Linked DNA regions of Homo sapiens: region 2 is linked to region 1. The links are contacts of gene promoters, found by promoter capture Hi-C in human tissues and cell types (Jung and others, 2019). All regions are on one chromosome and are shown on one strand. Each heading gives the region's core, a stretch centred on a gene start or on the middle of the fragment in contact. The rest is flanking DNA. Distances are from core to core; before and after follow the strand shown. Region 1 holds the start of SOX13 (SRY-box transcription factor 13). Region 2 has its middle 14 kb from the start of LINC00303.

Region 1 (2,668 bases), core at 102-2,601:
ACGACTACCCGCTCCGCATCTCCCTACCCCTAGGCGCGATCAGCGTTTGCAGCGGAATCGGGATGAAAAGGCTCACCTACGATATCCCAGGGCGGGAGGTGGGGGTAGCAAGAAGCAGCCTGCGGTGGGGGTGGGGGTGGGACAGGAGCAGCCGGAGCAGAAAACAAACAGGATGCCGCGCTGGTCTGGTCCGCTGGGGAACGACCCTGAAACCGTGGCAAGGGGAGCGCGTCTGTCCCCCAGCACCCCACGCAACCATGGTGGAGGAGCTCTGCGCCTCGTCGCAGGCACCTGAGCCCCACGCAGGACGCGCGCAGGTCGCTTCGGCTTCCCGCTGAGAAATCCTTAAACTAGGCGCATAGTCGGGCTGATGAGAAAGACCTAGTCCTCTGCGGTCGGCGAGGAGCGGGTTGGGGGTGCACCCTAAGCTCGACCCGCGTGGTGAACGCGCGCGCGCGCGCGCGTACACACACACACACACACACACACAAACACACACACAGCCACGCACTGCCTTAGAGGCTGCCATCCCTCTCCACAAGGACCCAAGTCGGCCAGGGAGGAGCCGCCACTGCCCAGCGTTGTTGGGGGTAGGTGAGGGTCCGTCTCTCCTCGAAAAACTTTGCACAGGGTGGAAACTCGCAGGGAAGAGAGCCGGTGGGTGCCCAGAAACGTAGGGGCGCAAGTGTCAAACTTCAGAGAGCTGGGGAAATGGGCGCGACGGCGCGATCATGGCGGGGAGGGGTGCACTTACTACTCAGCCAGGCGCCGGGCTCGGGGCTCGGGGCTCGCGGCTCCGCGCTCCTGCTCCTCCTCCGTGCGGTCCTCGCGGCTGGCAGCCTAGGCTTCCCGCTCACATGCCCCCGCGACGCGGCGGGCGGGCCGGGTTGGGGAGGCTGGGCTGGGAGGGGGCACGCCCCCCGCCGTCGGCCGGGGAGTCGCTGCGGACCCACGGCCACCCTGGGTCCGCGCCCCACGGGGCCCGCCGTCCCGGGCGGCGAGCTTGGTTCCGGCCGGGCGGCGCCCTCTCCGCCGAGCCAGGCCGCTCTCTGCCCTCTGCCCTCTGCCCTGGGCTTGCGGCCGTCTCCCTGCCTTCCGCGGTCCTGCTCTGCGACTCGTCGGACGCGCAGCCGGCCCGCCCTCCCTGCTCTTCGGCTCTCACGCTCTCCGGCTCCAACCTCAGCGCCTCGGCTCGATTCCGAGTCAGGGCCTACGAGGCTGACCGCTGAGCTCTGGGCTCAGACCTGGGCTCGCCGGTTCTGGGCCCGGGTTCCAGGACCCGTGCTCACACAGTTCAGTTCCAAGCCGGGACTGGAGAAGGGCGCTCGCGGCTCGCTGCTGCGAGGCGACTGGACAGCCTAGAGGAGAAAGAGGGAGGGAGACCGAGAGCGCGCAGGGGGAGGAGGGAGGGAGGGTGGGGACTTGCAGAAGAAGGGAGGGACAGAGAGTTTCCTCCTCCTCCCTGCAGCCGGGTCCATCCAGGCATCAACAGCTGGAAACCTCTGTTGGAAAGGGGAAAGCTAAGGTTTACGGGCGGCGGGGAAGGGTGGGGGTGGAGTGAGGGGGTGTAGAGAAGAGAAGAAAGAAGGATTCTGCCCGCTCCCACTGCCCAGGTATGAGGGTCGCTACAGAGAATCTTCACTCCTTAAAGCAAGACCTAAGAAGTTATTGGTCCAGCTCCAAGCCTCCCAACCCCTCCAAACAGATAGCCTGGACTCGGGTTTTTTAAAAACCCCATTTCTCCGGACTTCCCTTAAGAACCTGATCTCTGCCGGGCGCGGTGGCTCACGCCTGTAATCCCAGCACTTTGGGAGGCCGACGGGGGCGGATCACGAGGTCAGGAGATGGAGACAATCCTGGCTAACACGGTGAAACCCCGTCTCTACTAAAAATACAAAAAATTAGCCGGGCGTGGTGGCGCGCCTGTAACCCCCTACTCGGGAGGCTGAGGCAGGAGAATCGCTTGAACCCGGGAGTGGGAGGTTGCAGTGGGCCGAGATCGCGCCATTGCACTCACTCCTGCCTGGGCGACAGGGCGAGACTCCGTCTCAAAAAAAACAAAACCTGATCTCACCTGTAGCTAGACGGATTCCTGATATCTCCAACCACTCCCTAATCCTGTCATTTGCAGCCTCTCAAATAAATCTTATTTTCTCCTGTCCCATTATATGGGAGGGTGGGGGAGAATGGAGAGTTGGTTTCCTTTCATTCAACGTATTTATCAAATGTCTACATATGACCGGGCGCAGTGGCTCACGCCTGTAATCCCAGCACTTTGGGAGGCCAAGGCAGCAGATCACCTGAGGTTGGGAGTTCGAGACCAGCCTGGCCAACATGGTGAAAACCCCTCTCTACTAAAAATACAAAAATTAGCCGGGTGTGGTGGTGCATGCCTGTAATTCCAACTACTCAAGAGGCTGAGGCAGAAGAATTGCTTGAACCCAGGAGGCAGAGGTTGCAGTGAGTGGAGATCGCACCACTGCACTCTAGCCTGGGTGACAGAGTAAGACTCTGTCTCAAAAAAAAAAAAAAAAAAAAGTCTACCTATGCCTGGCTTACCGGGGTGCTGGGGACACGAAGACAAATGAGACGGTGTCCTGCCCTTTCTGGATTCTGATTTTGTAAAGGAATGGGTGAATATACCATTGCAGTGAAGTGGAGAGGGCTA
Region 2 (2,668 bases), core at 49-2,548, 46 kb after region 1:
TAAGGTCCTCTTAGTCTGGCTGTAAAGGGCACCTCTGGCCAGGAGCGGTGGCTCAGGCCAGGTGCGGTGATTCACGCCTATAATCCCAGCACTTTGGGAGGCTGAGGCGGGTGGATCACCTGAGGTCAGGAGTTCAAGGCCAGCCTGACCAACATGGATAAACCTTGTCTCCACTAAAAACACAAAAATTAGCTGGGCATGGTGGCACATACCTGTAATCCCAGCTACTCAGGAGGCTGAGGCAGGAGAATCGCTTGAACCTGGGAGGCGGACATTGCGGTGAGCTGAGATTGCGCCGTCACACTCCAGCCTGGGCAACAAGAGCGAAACTCTGTCTCAAAATAAATAAATAAATAAATATAATAAAGGACACCTCTGCCAAGCTGGGAAGAATATTATGCCTTGCTATCCTGCTGGCAGCTTCCTCTCTGTGCCCCATCTAGCAATGGCTAGAACTGGGCCAAATCCTCACTCGTTGCTCTGTGATTTACAGGCACAACACCCTCTACCTCCCTATGGAAAAGAAGCTGCTATCACCAGGGGAAAGATTAACTGGTACATGTTGTTGCATCCTCACCATAGAGCACTCCTGAGCTCTTAAGAGGCTGACGTGGGCCTCTTAAGGCCCACCCATATGTGGGCCAGGAAAGGCTATCTATGCTGGGTCATTGAGGCCCAGGGTCTGGTCTTCCAGAACAAAGAAATATTTGCCCAGAATTAAATCCCCATCACCTGTAACAGCTTCCTGCTTTGAGACCAAGGCTTCAAAAGTCCCAGGAGCAATGCTTGGTCAAGGCTTGAGATTAAATGTTGAGGGGCTCCCCACCACACAGAAATCTCCCTAAGGAAGGAAACGTTCCCAAGTACAGAGCAATCTGGCTCCCAGGGAGGTCAGGGGACAAATTACCACTGTCTGCTTCTCCAAACCCCAGGAGTTTTTCGCCAGTCACAAAAAAACAGCACAATAACAGTAAAAGCGAGAAGATAAGATGAGATGAAAGAATGTCATATAAAATCATAAAGAACAAAATAGAGATAAGGAATGATCAAGATAAGTAAAACAGAACTAGAGGACTCAAAGATGAAAAGGAGAAAAGAGATAAATAAGCTTTTAAAATTATACAAAAAAATACAATCAACAATTTATGAGATTAGAAGCTGAGGTTATAAAAACAAAGGTTTACAATGTTCAAATAGCCCCAGGCAATGGAACCTGAGCGGCCAGCAGCCTGCAGGGGTCTTCCTGGTCTCCCACACAAAGGCAGAGTTTGAAACCCCCTTTAACCAACTCCAGAGCCCTTCTAGGCAACATCTCACTGCTTAAACACCTTGGGGCCATTATTTCTGACTTCTGATTTTTGCTGATGTCCATGAGGTACTATCCAATTCATCTTCTGCCTGTATTTCCAAAGCAAATGTTATTGGGAACTAGTAAAATACAGGTCCACAATTCCTAACTCTCAATTCAGAAATCCAAAAAGCCATGAAAACCAAAACTCTGTCATCTCTTACTTGATGGCATAACCTGATCTAGCCTGAACTTATTTGGCAGCAAAACCTGACCTGAACTGAGGTGAAGCTATTTATAGGGTGAATCTTCATTCATTTCCTTGCAGAAATATTAATGTGCTTGATTTGAGGGAACTGCCACAGAGCTTGCTCTGGGAGTTGTGTAATACAGGGTATGTGCATCTTACCTTACTAAAATTCTGAAACACATCTAGCCCTAAGGTTTCAGATAAGAGATCGTGGACCTGAATTAAAATCCTCCACCAGATAGAAGAATAGGAAAACAAATGGTAGCATATTCACACAATGGAATACTACACAGCAATCACAATGACCTAGCTGCACTACACTCTACATAATGTCCAGAAAAGAAGCCAGACACAAAATTCACACGTGTTGGAAGGCTCAAGACTACCTTGTATTTGTTTTGTTCATTTCTTAAATTCCACTGCTATAGAGTTCAAAAACAAGAAACCTAATCAGGTAGGATTTCTTTCATTTAATCTTTCAGTAAATATAGGCCAGTACCCCGATTACCTCTTCCCACCAGAGCCTAAGCTGACCACTCTGGAGAATGTACTGCTAAGCCCCACGCTGACAGCCCTGTCGCCAATGCAGGACCAGTTTGTTCCCTCTCCACCTTCCTCCCTCTGCCTTTGTCTCCAGCTCCTCTTTGTTTTGCCCCGGTGGAGTGGCTCACGGGATGGTGGCGATCTTGTCTTTTCATGCTTTTGTCCTCACTCCATCCGGGGTCCCTGTCCACCCTCTTCCCTGGCCATTCACATAGGCGTTTTATCTTTCTTCATTCCCTCTCCTCCTTGGCTGATGGGCTGCCCGATCCCCACGCGGCCCAGTCTCTTCCTGTCCTTATGTCTCTACCGTCTGATGCTTGGGATCCGCTGGTTTTAGGCTTTTGTTTGGGCCGCAGGGCGTTCTCTCTGCCTCTGCCTCTCACTCCCACCACCCTCCCTTCCTTCCCCCTCATCTCGATGTCCTTTGTGGGACATTCACTTTTATCTCCCTTTGATTTTCTCTCTCCTCTTTGTAGAGGGAGAATGAAAGGCTCAGCTAATTGTAGCAGTGGGGCAGTGACGCCTGGCTCCCCTTCCCAGCACCTTCCCCACCAGGGCTGAGCAGAAAGGGAAATGAGGGCAATTCA

The links. The method cuts DNA at HindIII sites, captures the fragments that hold promoters and counts their contacts. A contact is called where the count stands out against the background at its distance.
Region 2: a contact is called between a fragment that was not itself captured here and the fragment with the promoter of SOX13 in region 1, in 1 of the 25 tissues and cell types used here (psoas muscle).

Annotation. Positions count from the first base shown.
Region 1 is chr1:204,071,798-204,074,465 of GRCh38, reverse strand. It overlaps SOX13 (SRY-box transcription factor 13), which reads right to left and starts at 1,351. Exons shown (of 14, transcript NM_005686.3): 1 at 755-1,351. RefSeq lists an enhancer at 1-672. The HindIII fragment of the contact is 26,498 bases long and covers 1-2,668 here.
Region 2 is chr1:204,026,107-204,028,774 of GRCh38, reverse strand. No RefSeq gene overlaps it. Among named protein-coding and RNA genes, the nearest start is that of LINC00303, 14 kb to the left of the region's middle. RefSeq lists an enhancer at 1,775-2,324. The HindIII fragment of the contact is 5,174 bases long and covers 1-2,668 here.